2 separate regions of the Homo sapiens genome follow, and region 1 is linked to region 2. The links are contacts of gene promoters, found by promoter capture Hi-C in human tissues and cell types (Jung and others, 2019). All regions are on one chromosome and are shown on one strand. Each heading gives the region's core, a stretch centred on a gene start or on the middle of the fragment in contact. The rest is flanking DNA. Distances are from core to core; before and after follow the strand shown. Region 1 holds the start of REXO1 (RNA exonuclease 1 homolog). Region 2 holds the start of NFIC (nuclear factor I C).

The links. The method cuts DNA at HindIII sites, captures the fragments that hold promoters and counts their contacts. A contact is called where the count stands out against the background at its distance.
Region 1: a contact is called between the fragment with the promoter of REXO1 here and the fragment with the promoter of NFIC in region 2, in 1 of the 25 tissues and cell types used here (spleen).

The regions. Positions count from the first base shown.
Region 1 is chr19:1,846,186-1,852,293 of GRCh38, forward strand. REXO1 (RNA exonuclease 1 homolog) reads right to left here and starts at 2,298. Exons shown (of 16, transcript NM_020695.4): 1 at 2,017-2,298. The coding sequence starts at 2,173. RefSeq lists a silencer at 2,026-2,495 and enhancers at 2,516-2,665, 2,686-2,765. The HindIII fragment of the contact is 7,366 bases long and covers 1-6,108 here.
Region 2 is chr19:3,362,334-3,368,281 of GRCh38, forward strand. NFIC (nuclear factor I C) reads left to right here and starts at 4,250. Exons shown (of 11, transcript NM_001245002.2): 1 at 4,250-4,333. The coding sequence starts at 4,304. RefSeq lists silencers at 3,879-3,968, 4,419-4,568, 4,859-5,258. The HindIII fragment of the contact is 27,364 bases long and covers 1-5,948 here.

The DNA of each region.
Region 1 (6,108 bases), core at 1,048-3,547, 1.5 Mb before region 2:
CCAGCCTCTTCAAATCTCATAGGAAACTGGGTGTGTGTAAATCTGGAGGTGTGGACATGGGACATGCATCCCCCCCTGTCCTCAGAGGGCAGCCTGATGAACATGTCACGGAGGCGGAAACAGAGGGTCAGAGAAACCTCACCGCAAGGAAGATGGATCCTGCCTTCTGCGGGGGGAGGCAGTCTTCTACCAGACAGTAACAAGAAGCCCTACCACCCCACCAGAGATGGGAAAAGGAGTTCATTCTCACCAGCAAAAGGGAAATGCAGACACGCCATGGTAAGAGGCAGGCAGCTGCCTTTTTCCCATAGGAACGGGGGGCAGACAGGAAGACGACATCACCAAAGGGACCCTCAAAAATAAGCCTTTGGGAAACAAATGAGCCATTTGGGATGCAGACAGATATCATAAGCCTGACTTGCGCCGGGTGCAGTAGCTCACACCTGTAACCCCAGCACTTTGGGAGGCCGAAGCAGGAGGTCGGCTCGAGGCCAGGAGTTTTGAGACAAGCCTGGACAACATAGCGAGACCCTATCTCCACGAAAACATACAAAGTTAGCCAGGCTTGGTGGCACCCGCCGCCCATAGTCCCAGCTACTCAGGAGGTTCAGGCAGGAGGATCCCTTGAGCCCAGGAGGTCGAGGCCTCAAAGAGCTGTGATCGCACCACTGCACTCCAGCCTGGACTATAGAGTGAGACCCTGTCTCTAAAAATAGGGTTAAAATGAGCATCGTGAGTCTGGTGTCACAGCCTCCGAGAAGCCTCTCCCACGCGTTGCCTTCTTCACCAACTCCCAGCCCCCGCCAAAGCCGGCTGCGTGCTCCCAGGACATCACGACCTATGCTACGGGATCTGTAGGCACAGCTGTCGGCAGGTCCCTGAGAGCACAGCCGGCATCGTACGCAGCTCTGAATCCCCCGCCTCAAACACAGCGAAGACGCTGGGCTGTGGGGAGCTGACAAGTGATTGCTTGCATCTGTCCACCTGCAAACAACCGCCCACAGGTGCAGGTGTCCCAAGCACACTTATCAGGGAAATCAGAAAAAAATGCTACCTTTTCTGGCAAAACAGGAAAATAAACCTATTCTTAAATCCTAGAGAAGATGTTTCTCTTTTGCAGGAAAAGGTTCTGAGCTGAGACTGTTTCATGGTTAAAGTAAAAACAGTGCTTGAAACTCACGCCCAATGAGGAAATCTGGGACGAAGGAAGTCAGGGGCTGGGTGAAGCAGAGAGCCACTATCAAGGGACAGAGGTAACAGGGGAGTCTGAATGACATCACACTCGATAACCCTCCCTCCACGACTTTCCTTGCGATGTCCCTCTTTTTCTCCAATCCAAATCCCACATCTCCTCCAAGAAACGCTGCCATGACGATGAAAACCACCATGACGCTGTGAGGTGGAGTCCACCAACGTCCTCTGCCCGACCAAAAGCATGGAATTCCTCGGAGCCCACTCGAGTAAGCTTTGACTTCCTCCCTGCCAGTCATGCTGGACACAGGGCTCGACAAACACAAGAGACGATCCTCGGACCATCCTAACTCAACGACTGGAGACTGAGGTGGCCGCTGCCAGAGGCGCGGCCGGAGGAAACGTCATGGAAATAAACAAGGGCGGCCACAAGCACATGGGGTCCGGGAAGCGGCGGGCGCCAATCAGGGGCAGGAGGAGTCCAGGACCTGCCTAGCGCCGGCCGCGCCCGTCTCCCGAGCCCCCTTGTGTCAGGCCCGGTGCCCGGTACTCAACATGCGCTCGCACTCCGCCCTCTAGACAGCCCTGGCAGGACGCGTCCTCCTAGTTGACATTTCACACTCGTGAAGACGAAGGCTTAGGGACATCTAGTGCTTTGCACCGGGTCCCAGGGTGGGTGGTTCCGGTCCCGACTGGGAAAACCGTCGCCCGCGAACGTGTGGGGAGGAGGCTGGGCCGAGAACGGGGACCCCGGGCGGGACCGGGGTGGGGTCCAGACCCGGGCAGGGGAGCCGAGCCCAAGGCAAGCAGGCGGGCGGGCATTACCTGCTGCGGGGGGCGCCTCTCCGCCGTCACCGGGCGCGCCGGAGCCCCGGGCCCCGCGGTGCCGGAAGTGGCAGTAGGGCCGCCGGCAGGGCCCCCCGGGCGCCCCAGACCAATAGGGGCAGTCAATGGCCCGGAAGAAGCCAGTGGAGCGTAGCATGGTCCGTCCCGCGGCGGGGCCCCGGCCCGGAGCCGCCCGGGCCCCAGGGCCCCCTCACTGGCGCCGCGGTCGCCGCCGCCCGCGCCTCACGGACCCCGCCGCCGCCATCTTGCTCCGAGGCCCCCGGAGGCCCTCGGGACGCCGCCGCAAGGGACCCCGGGAGGGGCTGCCCGCAGCGCGCCTGCTCAGAAACGCCTGCTCCTGCGCGACCAAGGCTGGTGACGGACCCCTGGGCCGGGACAGACGGCCGCGGGAGGAAGTAAGGAGGGCAGGGGCTGCCCTGCCTGCGGTCTCCGGGAGCCTCGCCAGCGCCGCCGCCCGACCTTCGGCGGCTGTAGCGGCGCCATCTTGAGCCCCAGGCCCCTGCGGCGCCAGGGCTGTCCACGGCGCGCCTGACCAAAAAAGCCCCGCGGGGCCCGCTATTACTCATTTGCATATTATTTCCTTTCGTTAGCATATCACCTTAAGGCGCCCTCTGCTGGACGAGGAGAGTTCTGCGGGGAGGTGGCCTTAAACCTGGGCCAGGTGAAACTCATGGTTGAATTACTCCGTTCACAGTCTTTAAAAATCCCCTCGCCCTGGTATACAGCTGGCTCTCAAGAAACGCCTTAATCTCCCCAACCTCGACTCTTGTCATCAGTCTAATGACCAGGTCCACGTTCACTCATTTGTTCAACAAATATTGAGCGCCTACTGTATACCAGCTAGAGGGTGCATTTTAACAGACAAACGAGGAACAAGGCTGGGATGGGGCAACTCTGTAGTCTGGTGGAGTAGGCCCACGTCTTAATGGGAAGTTTAACCTGGTGCATTTTGGTGGGATTGTAAAATAGTGCCACTGCTATGTAAAACAAAAAACCCAAAAAGTTTGTTTTTAAGAGACAGGGTCTTGCTCTGTCACCCAGGCTGGAGAGCAGTGGTGCGATCACGGCTCACTGCAGCCTCGACTTCCCTGGCTCAGGTGATTCTCCCACCTCAGCCTCCCGAGTAGCTAAAACCACAGGTGTGCACCATCATGCCTGGCTAATTTTTTGTATTTTGTGTAGAGATGGAAAAAGTTAAACAGAATTACCCTATGAGCAACTCTATTCCTGGGTATACACCCAAAAAGAATAGAAAGCAAAGTCTTAGGTCGGGCACAGTGGCTCATGTCTGTAATCCCAACACTCTGGGAGGCTGAGGCGGGTGGATCACTTGAGCCCAGGATTTCAAGACCAGCTTGGCCAATATGGCAAAACCCTGTCCTACTAAAAATACAAAAATTAGCTGGGCGCGATGGCTCACGCCTGTAATCCCAGCTCTTTGGGAGGCCGAGGAGGGAAGATCAACCGAGGTCAGGAGTTTGAGACCAGCCTGGCCAAGATGGCGAAACCCCACCTCTATTAAAAATACAAAAATTAGCTGGGCGTGGTGGCGGGCGCCTGTAGTCCCAACTACTTGGGAGGCTGAAGCAGGAGAATCACTTGAACCTGGGAAGCGGAGGTTGCAGTGAGCCAAGATTGCACCACTGCACTCCAGCCTGGGTGACAGAGTGACAGTCCGTCTCAAATAACAATACAATGGTTAAGATGACAAATTTTATGTTATGTGCATGTGATTTTACCACAATTATAAATAAATGACAGGATGCAATGATGAGGGGACGTGGGTTGGGATGGGTCATGGGCGACTCTGCAGAGGACCTGATCTAATCTCAAAGCTGTCCTATCATGGGCAGTGGAGGCGTAGACTCCCTGTCATGGCTCCTGATGATGCGTGAGAGATGAACTCTCATTTATGCGATTGCTCCATCCGTGCCGGCTGGTGTCGGTCATTCATTCAGCAAATAGTTACTGAGCACCTACTGTGTGCCACAAAATGCTAGAAACATCCATAAGCAGAGCAGAGAACCCCACTCTGGTGGAGGTGATGGTGTAGGCAGGGAGGCCGACAATGAACACAGCAATAAGTGAGACAGCCTGAAGCCAGGTGGAAAGTGCTTTGAGAACAGAAACAGGAGAAGAGCCTGGACTGGGCACAGGGCTGGTCTGGGTGATTCTATGGGGAAGGCGGGATTTGTGCGGTTTTACAGAAAATTAGGGGCCAGGCATGGTGCCTCTCGCCTGTAATCCCAGCACTTTGGGAGGCTGAGGCAGGCAGATCACTTGAGGTCAGGAGTTCGAGACCAGCCTGACTAACATGGTGAAACCCCATCTCTACTAAAATTACAAAAATTAGCTGGGTGTGGTGGCCCATGCCTGTAATCCCAGCTACTCGGGAGGCTGAGGCAGGAGAATCCCTTGAACCTGGGAGGCGGAGGTTGCAGTGAGCCAAGATTGCACCACTGCACTCCAGCCTGGGTGACAGAGTGAGACAGTGTCTCGAAAAAATAAAAGATAAATAAATAAATAAAAGATGATGAGGGAGCCAAGCAGGCTTCTGGAGGAAAAGCATTCCGGGCAGAGGGCACAGGCCATGGGCAGGACTGCGCCTGGTGTGTTGGAGGAACAGCGAGGAGGCCAGTGTGGCTGGACCAGGGTGAGGAGGGGGAGAGAGGCAGGAGGGAAGAGCAGGGAGAGGACGGGGCAGGTCATGCAGAACCCTATGGGCCTCAGGGAGGACTTGGGCTTTGACTGTGAGGGCAGTGGGAGCCATGGAGGGTTGCGGGCAGAGGAGGAACCAGACTTGCCCCAGGTGTTCACGGACACCCTCTGGTGGCCGTGGGGAGGACAAACCGTGAGGAGACCAGGGCCAAGGTGATTGCACTGGTTCAGGTGAGTCGTGAGGAGGCTAGACCGTCGCGGTGGAAGCCCTTACAGCAGGGAAAGGCGGCCAGATCCTGGATCTATTTTGAAGGTAGAGCCCAAGGAGGTTTCAGATGGGCCAGATGTGGGTGGTGAGACACACAGTGGGGTCCAGGGTGACTCCCCAAGGATTTTGGCCTTGCAGGATGGAACTGCCCTCGACCGAGGAGGGGGCATGGCAAGAGCAGCCTGCGGGTGGGAGGGACGCCCGGGAGGGTCGGGGTCCCAAAGGCACCAAAAGGATGGTGCTGCTTCTGGGCACGTGTGTGTGCTGGGGGTGGGGCGTGTAATTTAAAAGCCTAATGCGAGTGTGTCCGTCAGAGAGAGGGGTGAGGCTGCGAGTGTAGACCCCATATTCTAGACATTTTGCTCCAGAGGGGCAGAAAACCAGGCAGGAGCTGGAGGGGTGCGAGAGTCCCGGGAGTGATGTTTGTGGGGCGTCCGGTAGGATGGGAGGATGGGTCGGGCAGGATTGGGGGTGCACGAGGGAGGCTGCCCTCGAGTAAAGCCGGGAATTTGCCGCCCAGGTTGGGGAGGGGTCTGGCGTGAGCCGGCGCCGGCCGCGCGATACGAGAGGCCGACCACCCCCTTCCCCGGGCGGGCAGCAGGCGAAGCCCCAGGGCTCAGCAGGTGTGTAGGAGTGGCCTGCCCGGCCCCATCCCAGCCCCGCCGGCCTCCAGGCTCTGGGGAGCGCTGGAGTCCACAGTGGTTTTTTCCTGGGGAGGGCCTCAAAGCTCTCACCGCCCCCTCTTCCCTATTCCCACTAGGGGAGCTGGCATACAGTAGGCGCTCAATACAGGAGCACAGGAGCCTGGGAGGCGGCCGGGGGACCCTCCGTGGAGGAGCCTGTCCCGCGCCGGCGAGCAGCCCCGGGGGCGCAGGCTCCCCCATCCCCTGCGGCACCGGAAGGGGCGGGCGGTGGACGCCCCCGGGCGCCCTGTCACTGTGCCTCGGTTGCCAGGCAACGGGGCGGGCGGGAAGCTGGGCGGGGGGCGCAGCTGCGCCAGGCGTGGGTGACACCCGGCGGGCGCAGCGCGCGCTGCTGCAGGCAGCCCCCTCCGCGGGGCTTAGGGCTAGGGGCAGGGCATTTTGTGTCTCAGCCAGAGGGGCCTGGCCAAGACCCCCTTCACTAGCCCGCTGCCTCGGTTTCCC
Region 2 (5,948 bases), core at 3,000-5,499:
GCGTTGTGCTTGTCAAGAAGCGTCCTGTGGGGAGTTGGGAGGGTGTGTTTGTGGCTGTGTGTGTGCCATGTGGGTCTGTGTGTGTGTGTGTGTGTCTCTGCTCGCCCCTCTTTGAGGAGGTATCTGAGGTCAGGTGTGGGGGGAAGGCTGTGATGATATATGGGTCTGTTTTTATGTGAGTCTGTGCGTGTATTTGTGTCTTTGTGTATGTAGCTGTGTGTCGTGTGGAGTCTGTGTCTGCAGCTGCTTGAGTCTGCACGATGTGTGTCTGTGTGTCTCTGTAGGTCGTAGTGTGTGGTGTGTGTGTCTATCTGTACCAGCCTCAACGGCCTATCTGACCTTTAACTCACTTGACTTTAACATCCCTTCTTACAGCCTCAGTTTCTCATCTGTAAAATGGGACCACATGGGACCCTTGCAAGGTTCCTGGGGAGCTGACATTGTGAGCCCCTTGCTGAGCAGGTGCGGGGCTAGGGGAGGCTGACTGCACACTGCACTGCTGTGTAATCATTTGCCTGCAAGATTATGTCCTTTATTCTCTGGGTGTGGTGGCTGTGGGGTTACCATGGGGGGCTGGGGGTTCCTGTCTACCCTGCCTGAGCTGCTCTGTGAATTGCATTCAACTTTTTAAGTTTTCCTTTAATTACTGAAGCCATTAGTGATCATATGAAGAGGATACAACTGTATCCAGAGGAAAAAAAATCCAATCTTTCTGATCACCCCCATTCCTGGGTGGAACCCCGCTCCAGAATGTTACCATCTATAGTTGGAGCATTTGCAGGACTGAGAAATACACACTTATAGAGGATACATGTGCATATGTGTATATTTCCATAAAGGATGTACTTGTGGAAATACTCGTGTATTTCCATAAAGGAGACATATGTATATGTATGTGTATGTGTGTGTATATATATATATATATATATATATATATTTTTTTTTTTTTTTTTTTTGAGATGGAGTTTCGCTCTGTTGCCCAGGCTGGAGTGCAATGGCATGATCCTGGCTCACTGCAACCTCCACCTCCCGAGTTCAAGCGAACCTCCAGCCTCAGCCTCCCGAGTAGCTGACATTACAGGCACCCTCGCCCATGCCCGGCTAATTTTTGTAATTTTAGTAGAGACGGGGTTTCGCCATGTTGGCCAGGCTGATTTTAAACTCCTGACCTCAAGTGATCTGCCTGCCTCGGCCTCCCAAAGTGTTGGGATTACAGGCGTGAGCCACTACAACCGGCCAAAGGAGATATGTGTGTGTGTGGGTGTGTGTGCATGTGTGTGTATGTAAAGGATACTATGTATATTTGTATAAATACATGTGTACTCTTTAAAACCCTAAATGAGATCTTGAATTTCCTTGCTGGGTCTACAGCAGTGGGGTCTCAGCCAGGGTTGATTCTGTTCCCATGGGACACTTAGCCATGTCTAAGGACATTTGTGGTTGTCACGACTGGGGGGTGCCCCTGGCATGGAGTGGGTGGAGGCCATGGACTCTGCTCAGCACCCTGCAGGGCCCAGGACGGCCCCAACCCAGAGAGCGATCCAGCCCCAGTGTCCACAGTGCCAAGGGGGAGAGCTCTCCAGCTTTCTGTCCCCCCACTTGTCTCTTGGGGACATAACCAGTTGGGAGCCACTGGTTTTACTCAGCTGCATAGTGTCCCAGCCTGTGTTGGGATTACTAAACCGGTCCCCCACAGATGGACAGCATGGCTGCCTCCAAATTGTGGGCATTAGTTTTATAGGTGGCAGTCAACTCTTTTGTGCTCCTGTATCTGGGACAGTTACAGAGATGCCGAAGAGTGAAATAACTGTAGAGAGAGTGCTTTGAAAAAAAAAAAAAATGAGCCAGATTGTGCTCGAAAGTGCCAGGAGCTAAATCATGCACCCATCTTCCGGGCCCTCCACATGCAGGTCCCAATCTACCAATTGCCTTTTTAAAGAAACTATGACGTACAGTTCCCTGTTGTAACCACGGGCAGGTATTTGCTGACTTGCCTACAACCTGGAGGGTTATGAGCTGGCGTCGCCCCATTTCACAGAGGGAGAGCCGAGGTGCAGAGAGACGAAGCTGCTGACTGGAGGAGACATAGACCCAAGCAGCGAGCCCACGCGGCAATTTAGGGAACCAACTGTGTGTGCTGCGGGGGTCCCTTGCCACCCAAACTGGGATATAGGCTGCTGTTCGTACACTTGCAGAAGTTTCTCCCTGCAGCTACCGCCACCAATAATATTCACACAGCCTTCCCACATGCTATGTAAAGACTCCAACCTTCCCCACCTCCCAAGATGCATCCTGTTACTATAGCCATTTTACAGATGAGGAAACCGAGGTTCCAAGAGGGGCAGTCTCTGCTCTCTAAACTTCACCTTCCAAAGGATTCTAAGCTGCTGAATGAAGGCTGCAGGCAGGGTGGTCTGTACAGGGGAGGGAGGGTGGAAGGCACGGGGTCTGGAAGTCTAGGAGGAGTGTCTGAAGTCAACTGCAACTTTTAAATATCTGTGAATTTTAGATTTCACCCTGTATGTGTCCCTAGCGTGTTTTAATAAAATAAATTGCTTCACGTTATATTGGTATGTGGATTTCCAGATACACTTCTCACCATTTAATTCAAATGCTCCCCACAGCTGCACAGTGGGTTTAAAATACACAGACACACACATTTATGGACCGTTCGTGATGTACTAAGCACTGTTTGAATAATGTCACCGTCATGCAGAGGGGAGCCTGTGGGGGGCCTAGGGAACCTACGCTGCAGGAATTCTGCTCCCTCCTAGTTTACCTGTCAGACCCTGGGCAAGTGGCTTCCGTTCTCTGGGCCTCAGTTTCCTCTCCTGTAATGCCTGAGGATAATGGGTGCTGGTATCTTCTGCGCCCCTGGGCCTGGGGCACCTGCCCCAGCTTGGTGAGAGGGTATCATTTGTCCTTGGGAAGCTCAGAGAGATGAGGTGAAATGGCCAAGCTTTCTAAGAATGTGTCTTTAGTGAACATTTGACCCAAGGTCAAGGCTCTGCTAAGGTCATTGTCCTTATCCCCAGCAATCCCACAGGATGGGCATCTTTAAGCCACTTTATAGGGGAGAACCCTTGGGATGGGAATGAGAGACACAGCAGCCTCTGAGCTAGCCTGGGAGGATCCAGGGAGTGAACCGGGGGAGGGTTGGGGCCCTGTCATCAGATGCCCTGGGGGCTCAGACGGAGGCAGGCCAGGTCTCTGCCCTGTTACGTCTAGAAGGAGAACAGAATGTGGGCTCCAGGTCCAGATGGCCTGGCTCCAAGCCACACTTGCCATACCTCAGTCTTGAGATCTGTGAAAAGGGCACACCCCTGAGGCAGGTGGAAATTATTGGATACCCAGGGGGAGGCTGCAAGGGTTTATCTGGCCAGCTGGAGATCCCGCCTGGACACCGTCCTCCTGGGGTGCTGGAGAGACACACAGGCGAGGCCACCCCTCCCCTGCCCCTTGGGTGCTGGGTGAAGAGAGCAAATTCTGGAGCCTCCCGTGTTAGCCTGGGCCCTTCTGGCCAAGGAAGGGACAGCTGCACACAAGCCCCTCTAGCTGGGGACCCGCAGCCCCTGCCTGGCTCTGGGGGGAGAAGGGAGCCAGGGTGCTGTGGGACCAGCTCACCGTGCACCCAGGGTCGTACATCTTTAAGGGGAAAGAGGCGCGCTGGCCGGCCTCTGCGCACGTCACTTCTTCATTCCTTCCCTCCCCCCTGGCTCTTTCCTCCAACTTCCCGGCCAGCTCGGGGGTGATGGGGGGGTGGGGAGGGGGGGCCTTAAAAATCCACCCCTGGCCCCTCAATGTCCAGAAACAACCCTGTCCCCCCTCTCCGCTTGATCCGAATTGGGGTCGCCCTGCAGTCCTGGGGTCCTGGTCTAGTGCCCTGGGGCATTGCGTAAATACGGGAGGAGCGGGGGGGTCCTGAGACGTCGGGGGAGGCTCTCCTTTCTCGCTCGCGCCCTTTTTTCCCTCGTTTCTTTGAAAGTTGGGTGTTGAGAAGTGGGAGGTTCGGGGTGGGAGGGGGAGGGTGTCAGAGGGTAGAGAGAGAGACAGAGAGACAGAGACGGGGGAGAGAGGAAGAGAGAGACGGAGGGAGAGAGGGACAGAGAGCGAGGCGGGCGGCGCGAGAGAGGGAGAGCAGGAGGGAGGAGGAGGGAGACCGAGGGAGGAGGCGGCGAGGAGAGCGCGCCGGCCGCGGGGCGGGGGGGGGGGTTGGGGGGGGCGGGGGGGTGGTTTGGAAAAATGACTCAGTAAGTTCAGCGCGCCCGCTCCGGCCGGCCCTGCGCCTCCCGCCGCGCCCGGGATGTATTCGTCCCCGCTCTGCCTCACCCAGGTACGGTCCTCGCCCGGCCCCCCGCCGGCGCCCCCGCGCCCCCCGCATCCCAGCCCCGGAGTTTTGAAGCAGGAGGAGGCGGGACGAAAAAGGCGCGCGTCCCTCCCGCCATCCCTGCCCGGGATGCCCCCCGCGCCGAGGGCTGGGGTCCGGTGGGGGGATGGGTCAGGCTGGGGTACCCCCCCCACACCCTTACCTACCGCGGACCCCCTACGCGGGACTCCCGCCCAGCACCCCCAACCCCGACTCTCGGGACCTCTCCCGGATGTGGGGCTTGGTCTGCAGATTTGCGTCCCCCCCCCACACACCGACGCACTCCGCACCCCCGCCCCGACACTCGGAAAGGTCGGGGTGGGGGCTGGCCCCCCTCCAGCAAGGGCTCTGCGGGAAGCCCCCCGCCTGCCTCTGAGAGGAATCTAGGGGGTCGTGATTGGACCCTGGGTCTCCCCAGCTGGAGAGAAAGGGACCTCTCATGTGTTTTCCCCGTGTCCCCCCACCAAGGTTGTGCGGGCCGCCCTGGCCCTCGGTCGCCTTTCCCTCGTTATTGGCCCACGTGTGCATGGAGGGGGAGGGGGCAGGAGAAGTTGGAGGCCCAGGAGGGGGAAGGGTGCTCCGGCGGCCCGGCTGGGTCCCCCCTCCTTTGCAAGCCCCCCAGCACCGTCCCGGTATTTTCGCTGCATCGATTCTGGATTCTGGATTCTGGATTCTGGAGCCGCCGCCGGGAGGAGCGGGAGGCCCGGCGCTCCGGGTCTGGCCCGGGCACTGCGGCGCTGCGGACGCCCTCGCCAGCCCGGCACCTGCCCCGTCCCCTCCCCCTCCCCCTCCCCCTCCCGTAGCCTCTCACCCCTGGCCGCACTCCCAGACTGCCCCGGGGCCGAGCCTTGTGCAATGGCCGAGGGGGTGTGTGGGGAGGGGGCGGCTCCCCCCGGGGACTCCTTCCAGCCCAGGCTCCCGGGGACCCCGAGGTCTGCAAGTTCCGTTTTCTAGACCGCTGCTTTCCTCCTTACGCAGTGTGTCTTTAGGCTGGAGAGGTTCTGGCCTCAGTTTCCCCTGAAGTGAGGTGCGGCTAAGGCCGGTTCTGGAGAGGGGACAGTATGGCGGGCAAACTGTAAAGTCCCGGCACGTGGGGGGTGCGATTCCAGCGAGGGCCAGGCCCGTCTTAAGAAGCACTGTGTGGGGAGTATATGAGTCCCCGGCTTCCGCTCCAGGGCATGGTGCAGTGAGGGACCCCCCACGCCAGGCATGCTCCTTGGTAGGGTCTTTCTCACCGGCCCCCTGCAGCCGACAGGGAATGTGGGAGCTGGTGCTGAGGGGGTCTGAGGTCTGTCCTACCTGTGATCCCCTGAGTGACCTTGGGTAAGTCCCTGTCCCAGCCTCAGTTTCCCTTTCTGAGCAGCTTTGGGGGGGGGGTTCCCGAAGAAGGCATCTCTTTGAAGTTCTCCAAGAACAACTAGGGTTCGAGTGGGCACGCTGTGTGACCTCGGGCAGCCTTTGAAGTCTCTGGGCTTGTGGGGTGACTGAGGTGTCCCCGCTCTGTCCTCACCAGCTGGAAGGAGCCATTTGGGAGGGCTGAGCGGAGGGGAGGCTGTTCCAGGCTGGGGAGGTTGGAAGGCTG